Linked DNA regions of Homo sapiens: all the other regions are linked to region 1. Evidence: promoter capture Hi-C in 16 types of primary human blood cells and fetal thymus (Javierre and others, 2016). All regions are on one chromosome and are shown on one strand. The core of a region is centred on a gene start or on the middle of the fragment in contact, and the rest is flanking DNA. Distances in the headings are between cores, read along the strand shown.

Region 1 (3,551 bases), core at 445-2,944:
TCCCACTCTCTGGAATGTTACGACTTTTTTCTTTAAAAAAAAAAAATTGGAGAAGGGGAGGGAGACATTCTGTCACTTTTTAAATAAGTGGTAGCACCGGTGATTATTTTTCCATCTGGTTAACCAAATGCAATTTTTGCCCATGCAAAAAACGAATGTACAACCCCTTGCTTCAATCCACCGGTTCATCCCTGGGCCGATGCATGGAGAAATAAAAAAAAACTCTTGCCCTTGAGGACTAAGAGAGGGCAACTAGTCCATTTTCCCAGCCAGAACCTGCCTTGCTTTTGGAAAGACTCCGCCGTTCCTTTAAGGAACCAGGCCGAAGGCGGGAAGGGAGAGGTGACGGGGCCATCGGGACTGCTAAAACTGTATCCAGAGCGTACCCAGGCGGCCCAGGGACCCGGGCGGGCGCGGGGGATACGGCGGGAAAGGAATGCAAGAGCTGCGGCTTCACCTGCGACAGAGAACCTGGCGGCTCCTGCAACCTCCTCCTCCTCCTGCGCCGCCTGCGCTTGGCGCTGCAAACCGCTGCAAAAGCCACTGCTGGGAACGCGGCGCAACCCAGAGCCCGCTCTTTAAGCGCGGCTGTTAGCACCCCGGGAGGCAGCGTAGGGATGGGGTTGAGATGGAATGAAGGTAATACTTTGTCTTGAGCCAGGGGCAACTAGGATGCACAAACCCCCTCTGCAAACAGCCAGTGTACACACCCTGCAAGGAAGGCGCGCCACAGGCTGCAAAGGGAGACACAGGTTCCTCCAGCAGCAGTGGGCCATGGGCACCGAGCGGGGACACGGGGACGCTGTAGTGGCTCTGGGGCCTCACCCTGCACTTGCGTCCGTCCACGGTCTCCTCCTCAAAGCCTTCTCCGACCTTGAAGTTGATCTCAGTGGTGCGCACCGTGGTGGATGTCTTGATGTAGAACTGATCCCCGTCCTGGCGGATCTCCACGTGCGGCTTGGACGCAGCCGCTACGGCCACTTTCCTCAGCATGGCGTTCACACCTGCGCAGGGTGCACCACAGGCTTGGGTCACGGGGCCTCGCCGCCAGTCTCGGGACCGGTCGGGCACTGGTCATACCCTAACTTTAGAAAGGGGCCTTAAAATTGATCCACTCGTTTCCCTGCCCTCGCCCTTGTTTTCGAGATGAGAGACTGAGGCACAGAGAGGGTAAGTGACTTTCCTCGAGTTGCACAGTGAATTCGTGGCAGAGCCTGGTCCCAAATTTGAGTCTCCAAATTTAAGTCCCTGATCCTCCTTGCTCTCCAGTAATCTCTCCTCGCTATGATCTAGCACGAGATAAAGTCCGCACCATCGAGGAGGGCGCCAAACATTCAGCAAACGTTCGCTGAACGCGTGGGTTCCGGGATCTCTACCAGCTTCTCCGAGACCCGGTGCGCCTGGGAGACAAGGCGATCTATTGCCCCGGGGACTCCCTCCTGCCTGGGCTCCCCAACTTCCACCCCCTCCAGGACCGGGGCACTTCCGGGACCAGGGCACCTCCGGGCCGCATCTCCCCGTCGGGGCGCGCCCTCTGCACCAGCTTACCCAGTGCCTTGAGCAGCTCGTCGAAATTCTCGCTGCTGCGCATCTTCCAGGTGCCGGCGAAGTTGGGCATGGTGGCGGTGGCGGCGGCGGCAGGTACGGACAGCGGCGGCGCAGCGGGCACACTCTGAGCTCGCAAGGCGGAGACTGGCGCTTTGCGCCCAGCGCTGCGCGCCTTGAGTCACTAGGAGAGCGCCCCCAACCCCGCCGGGCTTCTGGCCCCGCCCCGCCGGCCCTGCCCCCGCTCCCCCGCAGCCCCTACTCGGTATGCGCTCAACTCCCAGCCCAGTTGTGCCTCAGCCTCCAGAGGTGCGGGCACCCGCTCTCCAACTGGGGAGCCTCCACCTCCCTCAGGACACCCACATCCCGCTTTAAAATGGGTGGTGGGAGAGGGTTAGCTGAAACAAGATGGGCTTGGAGGGGATAACTGTTGAAGCTGGGCGGTGTGGACTTGGGTTATGATTCTACTTTTCTCTCTACTTTTGAATATGTTTGAAAATATCCATAACATAAACTTAAAGTGGATAGCGAGCGGGGCCATCAGGGGATGGGACCCACTCTTTTTTCACCTCCGGTCGTACCTACTGGGTGTGCCCAGATGGTGTCCCTTCCCTCCCAGTCCGGGATCCTATTCTGAAACCCTCTCCCCGCATCCCCACGCCCCCCACAGGACCCATGGGGAGTGAGTGGCAGGAAACCGCAACCCCCATCAACACCAGCTTGGGCACTGAGGCGCGAATCCACGAGCTGCGGGTCCTCCGCGTTCCGAGTGCAGGAGGGGGCCAGACCTTTGTCAGGGCTCAGGACAAACTGTGGGTCGAGAGGCATGGACTGAATCAGCTCCAGAATCTGGGCTAGGTGCGGCCTGTTTTGCAAAAGCGTGAGGCTTTGCACTCTTCGGGCAGGCTGTGAGGGCCAAGGGGAGGAAGTCTTCTCCCTTTGCTCCCAAATAACCTAAACATCACGACCTAAAGTCCCCTCGGTGTTTCCACTAAGGGAGTACAAACACTTCACTATTACCCTTGTAGCTCTTCTCTGTACATTTTCCTTCCAGCTTTTTCCCACTATTTTACCATCTGCACACCTCAGCCAAACTGTACAATTCAGGATTCTAGAACGTGCCATGCATTTTATTATCTCTAAGTTTTTGCCCATGCCATGGCTTCTTCCTTGAATGCCCCTTTCCTCATCGGGTTAATCAAATCTTGCCCATTCACGAAAGCCCATCTTTATGCTCTCTCTTTTGTGAAATTCAGTTTCCTAATAAACTGTGATTATTTTTCTCTGAATTGACAGGATTCTTGTCCGGTCCTGCTCTTGTTCAAGTCTTCGCTCTGCTATAAACTGAACTCCTGGAGGGCAGTGATCGTTTATCCACTTGTCCTCCCTTCCTAAGGCTTAGCCAGGTGGGGCTCGATAACTGTGCATTGATTTGAGGAGGATGTGAGTGGTGGCCTGGGGTGAAGATTCCCCCAGGACCTTGGGGAATCTGTGCTGAGTGCCTACTGAACAGGGCCCTGGAAACTTCTGGAGGTGGCTGGGGCTGGGTTGCTGCCAGGAGGCTCCGAGGATCTGTCTAAGAAAGCAGCTGAGGACAGGAGAGGGGAGTGGGGCCATCACCAGCTGGAAAGGGGCATGGGCAGGGCCGGCATTCTGGACGTGCCGTCTGTGCAGTCACACAGGGCCATGCACTTAGAAGGGCCTGATAGTTAGATTGGAAAATGGAAAAGCAGGAATGCTCTGCTATTGCCAGCTTGAACGTCAGAATACTTTTTGTTTGTTTGTTTGTTTTGAGACAGAGTCTCGCTCTGTTGCCCGAGCTGGAGTGCAGTGGCGCAATCTTGGCTCACTGCAACCTCTGCCTCCTGGGTTTAAATGATTCTCCTGGCTCAGCCTCCCAAGTAGCTGGGACTACAGGTGTGTGCTACTATGCCCAGCTAATTTTTTGTATTTTTAGTAGAGACAGGGTTTCACTGTGTTAGCCAGGATAGTCTCGATCTCCTGAC
Region 2 (3,551 bases), core at 616-3,115, 250 kb before region 1:
ATTGAACGAGGGTTTCTGTCAGTGTTTGCTACCTGGTCACACCTGAAGTGGTGACATTTAGAGATGGAATTTAACTGTTTTAACTGTGATACATTATACTGTACTAAATCATTTACGCTGTACTAGTAATAGGCTAAGATTGATTACATCTAAAGGCCCTTGCAACTCTAAGATTCTATTATTGTAATTGTTAGAATGAAGGAGAGAAAACTGAAATATTACAGGTATATAACAGTGTGCATATACCAAATTAGAATACTGTGTTTCATATTAGAAGATTGTTTTCTCACAGAATGATTTAGACCAAAATATGTTTGAGACAGAGTTTTGCTCTTGTTGCCAGGCTGGAGTGCAATGGCGCAGTCTCGGCTCACTGCAGCCTCCACCTCCCAGGTTCAAGCGATTCTCCTGCCTCAGCCTCTTGAGTAGCTGGGACTACAGGCGCCTGCTACCATGCCCGACTAATTTTTTGTATTCTTAGTAGAGACGGGGCTTCACCATGTTGGTCAGGCTAGTCTCGAACTCCTAACCTCTGGTGATCCACCTGCCTCAGCCTCCCAAAGTGCTTGGATTACAGATGTGAGCCACTGCCCCCGGCCCTAAATATGTTTTTTAAATGGGGTTCATGTAATTGTAGTGGACTGACTATTCTAAGATCAAGGATAAAGAGATACTACCACAATTTATATAGAAGATGGTTCTATTAATTGTGGGAAATGTGGACAAGAGGACTGAAATTAATGTTAAGGATATGCTACTGCGTGTCCACAGGAGTTGTCTACTGTATGACTTTACAGTGGAAGCTAAGCTACAGAAATAGTTAACACAATAATTAAGCATCTAAAGAATAAAGTAAGCCTTAAAGGAGTTCCCAATTCCTGTTTTTCATTTATTTTTAAAATGTTGGTTATGGAAAAGCAGCAGCACATTAAGTTGTTGTTATTATTATTATTTGAGACTGAGTTTTGCTCTTGTTGCCCAGGCTGGAGTGCAATGGCGTGATCTCAGCTCACCGCAACCTCCGCCACCTGGGTTCAAGCGATTCTCCTGCCGCAGCCTCCCAGGTAGCTGGGATTACAGGTGTGCACCACCACCCTGGCTAATTTCATATTTTTAGTAGAGACGGGGTTTCTCCACGTTGGTCAGGCTGGTCTCGAACTCCCAACCTCAGGTGATACGCCCACCTCGACCTCCCAAAGTGCTGGGATTACAGGTGTGAGCCACCGTGCCCGGCCACATTAAGTAATTATTATATCAAGCATCACATTAAGTAATTATATCAAGTAGTCAGCTTTTTAAATATAGCAGTATAATATTATATTAAAGATTAGCTGTTACTCAGTGAGTACAGGAAAGTTTACATACCTTTACCAAATGCAGAAAAGTTTTAAAATCAGTCTTCAAATACAACTGGAATTCTCCAGCACAGTCAAAGGATGAACTTTACTGTGGATTATAAATTAGTATTATTTGCCAGGATACAAATACTAGATTTTTCACTAGTCCAGTTCAGATAATATTTTGCTATTTTTACAAGATCAAATGTATCTCATCAGTTATTACTTCAGTCATACAGCCAACTGTTCAAATGGATCATCTGTTAACATAAATTGAGGTTAGCAACTTAGTCTGTTAAAGCTTGCACTAAATTTAACACATAACTTACATTTTCATAATTTTATAGGTGCCATCAGATATATGTGTGTTAACTAAATGTATACTTCAGTCCCTTGGGAGGCTTCACTTATTTGCATTTCCAATATGAACTGGTATTAATATATTTGCCCATTTATAAATAACAGGAACAAAAAGCCCAAGAGATCCAACAATTGAAACGAAAAGAAAAGTCCACAGAAACATCCGATCAAGAACCTGGGCTATGAATTTCCAATCTTCAACAACCTGTTAGGAAAAAAATAAAAATGCATTAAATAATTGTAAATTGTGTACATATTTTAAGATATAACAAACACACTGAGTTAGAAGCCAAATCGATTTCTGCCTCCCATTGCTGCCTCTAAACGGTAAGTGACCCTATACTCAGCTCAGGGACAGACACTAGCCTGAAGGTCTACTATAGATATAAGCTTTAAAAGACACTACAAAATATGTTCATTTACACATCAACTTATATTACAAGTGGTTTATTTTGATAGATTAAAAATTAAAATAGACTTGGATATTTTACAATAAACTAAAAAAAATTATTCTTACTATATATACTTATTCTTGCCCAGTAGTGTTTACTTATTTTAATATTTTGAGAGACTCTAGCCTGAGATTAATTTCATGCCAAATTAAAAGTTGGTTCAGAATAATACATGTTAGAAAGCTGTTCATCTTCCTCACATACACACTTTATTTATTTTTGGATTTCCTAGGGACCACTTCAGTCTAATTTCATGAGCACAGAACAGTCTTCCCTGGAGCCAGCTTTAGTAGGGAGCTGGCTCAGCAGCTCGGAGCCACCACAAGGAAAAAGAAGGATGAGCCCAGCCACTAAGCAGCAGGGGCTCCCCTTTCTACAAGGCCATTTCCTTGACCAGGGGCTTCCCTGGCCCTGAACCTCTATGAAGGATGGTGTCCTCTATGGGAACTGTGCCTCCAAAGTGTAGGATAATTTAGAATTTAGGGCATTGTAAACCCTGTTACTTCTCTGCTTATTTTATTTTGAGACAGAGCCTTGCTCCGTCCCCCAGGCTGGAGTGCAGTGGCGTGACCTCGGCTCACTGCAACCTCTGCCTCCCAAGTTTAAGTGATTCTTCTGCCTCAGCCTCCCAGGTGGCTGGGACTACAGGCACACACCACCATGCCCAGCTAATTTTTCTATTTTTAGGAGAGACAGTGTTTCACCATATTGGCCAGGCTGGTCTCAAACTCCTGACCTCGTGATCCACCTGCCTCAGCCTCCCAAAGTGCTGGGATTACAGGCGTGAGCCACCGCACCTGGCCACCTCTGCCTCTGTTTTTATCTGAAAATAAAACCAACCTCCTTGGTCCTAGTAGTATGAGCCATGACCCTTTTGCACAATACTTTGCAGACATTTATTAAATTCCATCTCAGTCTAAACCATTACCTAACAAATCTATGTACTTTTAAAAACTCCAATGATAGCTCCAAACCTTATAAACTAATTTCATTATGCTACCACCAAATAGATACTTCACAAACCCACAAGCATTAGAAGTTTTTATGATGGGTGCACCAAAGTCTCAGAAATCAGCATGAAAGAACTTATGCATGTGACCAAACACATGTTCCCCAAAAACCTATTGAAATACAATAAAATAAGGAAGGAAAGTCTTATTGAAATTAAATCATTAACATATGAAAAAAAGTTTTAAAAATATATACATCAAATGTCCCTTTTGGGATAAAGGCTGTGATTTTGCCAGATTTATTCTGTCTCCTCATACCTGATGGAAATTTTCCATTTAAAATAGCTTTACAGATTATAATTCACATAATTTTAATGTACATTCAATTATGAAAATATTACTATAGTCATAGGTTTAAAATAATACACAATAGAAGAAATAACAGTGACAAG
Region 3 (3,551 bases), core at 647-3,146, 140 kb before region 1:
TTTTCTTTTTGAGATGGAGTCTCGCTCTGTCGCCCAGGCTGGAGTGCAGCGGCACGATCTGGGTTCACTGCAACCTCCGCTTCCCAGGTTAAAGCAATTCTTCTGCCTCAGCCTCCTGAGTAGCTGGGACTATGGGTGTGCGTCACCACGCCTGGCTAATTTTGGTATTTTTTGTGGAGACGGGGTTTCACCATATTGGCCAGGCTGGTCTCAAACTCCTGGCCTCATGATTTGCCTGCCTCGGCCTCCCCAAGTGCTGGGATTACAGGCGTGAGCCACCGCGCCCAGCCCAAAAAACATAAGTTACTTTCTCCAAAGTTCAGGGACAATTTAAACTTATGTATTATAGACCCAATAACCTCATAAAACTAAAATTAAGACAATTTTCAGTTAATAAATGCAAACTATAAGATTTCTTTCTTTTTTGAACTGACCTACACAACTCACAGAAATTGTGCATACTTGGTATCGTTTCTTACACTGTAACTGTTATTTGGTTGTACTTGTTTGTCTTGTCTTCCCAACTAAGTATCTTGAAGCTAAGACCACATCTCCTACTTCTGTGTATCCAACCTGGTGCTTTGCTCATTTGATATGCCCAATAAGTGTTTCCTGAGTGATAAGGCATCAAAAATTGTATGGTAATGGCAAGGTAGCAAGTAAAACTAAAGCATATTTTTTCTATCTTCTCTTTGTATATGAAAGGCACAAACAAGCAGCTTCAGTACCTACTGAACACCAATATCAATATGAAGTGCGATAGCTGTTACTTACCCAAGCTTACTTAGATATGGTAATACTCCACTTGAACTGAGGTAATGTGTAACCATCCCACTGCCTGGAGATAAACTTGTTCTTATATAAGGTTTAACACGCAGACCAGCTTCAACAGCCTTTTTAGCCAAAAGACCTGCACAGCCAACAAACAATGATTTATTATGGCAATGTTTCTTTCCCTCTCTCACCCATATTAAAGTAAAAAGTGAGAAGTAATTTATTTAACAGATTAAAGTATGAATTCATAAACTTACTGTCATTATTTTGTCCACTTTATTCTACTGATTTGCTTCATTTACAACAAATTTAAAATTACAGCCTTTATGTTGAAAATTATTAAGATACAGGCTGACATCATTCACACAGAGTAAACAAAAGGTGCACATATATAAGTACATGTTAACAAAACCATTTTTTCTCTTTCTTCTTTTTTCTAAAGCAAACCATTTTAAAGTCATAATTACAATAAGAGCAATGTAACACATTATACATGGTTTTATACAACTAAGGAATTGTTCCAATGGGCATACAAATTAATTTCATTTACAATCCTTGCCAAGACAATGATCTTTTACTACTTTTATAACTTTTAATGAAATCTACCACACTGTTATGGTTAACTTCTAGATAATCAAGAAATACCTGCTAATTAACTATAGTTCTAAATTAACAAGAGAAGCAGATACAACCTAAAATTAATTGACAGGTAAGTTATAGTAAACAGTAAATTTACCTTCGGTGTAATAAAAACAACATAAATCAAACTCAGGCTCCTTAAGACCTAACTAAAATACTAGAAAGTCTCTCAATATCAAATGTAGACACTCATGCATCATCTAAGAAACAAAGTTACAATAACAGAAAAGCCAACAATAATTAAGGAAAAAGAAAAAGTATGGCCATAAACCACAACCCACCTGCAGCAAGCATGACAGATGGATTGCAATTATTGGTACAACTGATAACTGCAGCAATGACCACTGATCCATGAGACAGCTTATATTCACTTCCTTCATAATGAATGGAGACAATATCCTTTTGTTTTTCAGCTGCAATTTGGAAGCCTTTAAATCCAACCTATACAAATTTCCACAAAAATATAAACTAAATATTCTGGGTATGTACAGAATAAAAGACTGGCAGAAAACATAGCAGATACCGGACATTTGATGATTTAACATTAAAAATCCTTTTTGTGAGTGATGCTAAAGGCCCATAACATTCAGTAGTTGTAATTCAGCTGAAGCATAAATCTGCATGGGCACGACAGGAGTCTGGTGATGTTCACAAGCAAAACTTTTATCTACTAAGCGAGTCCAGCCTACCACCCAGAATCCAGATCTCATTTGGCTTTGTTGTTCTTAATCATCCCTGTTTATAGTAATTCTCAAGAGATGGCAGAAATTTTTTTCTGTTAAAATGACCCCGAAGATTTCCTCCAAAGGGATCCTATGTGTGTGAGTGTAGCATAGCTGAAACAAGATTGGCTATGAGTTGCTAATTATTGAAGCTAATTGACAGGTACATGGCAATTCAGTGGACTATTTTGTTTTTGTACAAGTTTAACACTTTCTGAACAAAAAGTCAAGAAATCATAAAAAGAAAGGCTCTGAAAGGAAAGCCAAGTACTAGAGATCTCAGAATAGAGAAAGTGACAAGACTAAAACTGTGATTCTCAGACAGAAAATACAAACCCTCAAAAGCCAGAGACCACTTGCTACTCGGTCACATTTACCAAATTTTATGACTGTAGGCCAGGTGCGGTGGCTCATGGCTATAATCCCAGCACTGTTGGGAGGCTGAGGTGGGCAGATCACTTGAGGTCAGGAGTTGAAGACCAGTCTGGCCAACATGGTGAAACCCTGTCTCTACTAAAAATACAAAAATTACCCAGGAATGATGGTAGACTCCTGTAATTCCAACTACTTTGGGGGCTGAGGCAGGAGAATCGCTTGAGCCCGGGAGGGGGGAGGTTGCAGTGAGCCGAGATTGTGCCACTGCACTCCAGCTTGGGCAACAAAGTGAGACTCTGTCTCAAAAAAAAAAAAAAAAGTTTCTGTGATGATGTAACTATTCAATTATCTATGCTGTTCATCAATACAAGACCCATATGTATTCAGCATTTAAAAATGAGACTACTGTGACTAAGAAACTCAATTTTAAATTGTATATAATTTTAATTTAAATAGACACAATCAATCTCTGATCCTCACAATGGAACTGGGAACAAGCTTACCTAATGACTGACTTGCACATTAGACAGAAGGAAAATAAGGGGGCTGCTGGTGTGTGCCATAATATATAAAACATAGCAGTGAATTGAGTTTATGGGTCACCTTGTTGGTTCTTTACTACTTAGCACAAAGCGGGTTGAAAAACACGGATAAGAATAAAGTAACCTACCTTTTCATTTAAGCAAGCCTGGAAATCGCTTTTCATATCTGTCACAGCAACTCTATCCTGAGGTCTTTTTGGACCACTAACAGATGGAACTATTGAATTCAGATTAATCTGGATCACCTAAGAAATGAGAAAGAGAAAGAACAAGGAATTAGAATTAATTCCTTACGACAGATTCCAATTGAAGCATTACTTTCTAAAGCAGAGTAAGTATATTCGTATTTATTTTAATGCAATTTATTTTAATAGTATAATACACCCTCAACCCCAAGAAATAAAGATTTTAAAACAAGCACATTTAAATGTACGAAACATGAAAATTTGCTAAAATCAAGACTAGTAGATCAGTATGCAATTAAACTACCACAACACCA

Evidence for each region. The method cuts DNA at HindIII sites, captures the fragments that hold promoters and counts their contacts. A CHiCAGO score of 5 or more calls a contact.
Region 2: a contact is called between a fragment that was not itself captured here and the fragment with the promoter of CRABP1 in region 1, in 1 of 17 cell types (erythroblasts). The highest score is 5.4, in erythroblasts.
Region 3: a fragment that was not itself captured here is called in contact with the fragment with the promoter of CRABP1 in region 1 in 2 of 17 cell types (megakaryocytes and M2 macrophages); the score reaches 6.0 in megakaryocytes.

What each region holds. Positions count from the first base shown.
Region 1 is chr15:78,338,496-78,342,046 of GRCh38, reverse strand. It overlaps CRABP1 (cellular retinoic acid binding protein 1), which reads right to left and starts at 1,694. Exons shown (of 4, transcript NM_004378.3): 1 at 1,549-1,694; 2 at 826-1,004. The coding sequence starts at 1,618. RefSeq lists an enhancer at 1,516-2,144. The HindIII fragment of the contact is 12,559 bases long and covers 1-3,551 here.
Region 2 is chr15:78,591,443-78,594,993 of GRCh38, reverse strand. It overlaps CHRNA5 (cholinergic receptor nicotinic alpha 5 subunit), which reads right to left. Exons shown (of 6, transcript NM_000745.4): 6 at 1-1,902. The coding sequence ends at 1,741. It also overlaps a transcript of CHRNA3 not described here. Among named protein-coding and RNA genes, the nearest start is that of CHRNA5, 28 kb to the right of the region's middle. The HindIII fragment of the contact is 449 bases long and covers 1,641-2,089 here.
Region 3 is chr15:78,483,064-78,486,614 of GRCh38, reverse strand. It overlaps IREB2 (iron responsive element binding protein 2), which reads right to left. Exons shown (of 22, transcript NM_004136.4): 11 at 3,181-3,297; 12 at 1,695-1,854; 13 at 775-910. Among named protein-coding and RNA genes, the nearest start is that of HYKK, 23 kb to the left of the region's middle. The HindIII fragment of the contact is 2,229 bases long and covers 782-3,010 here.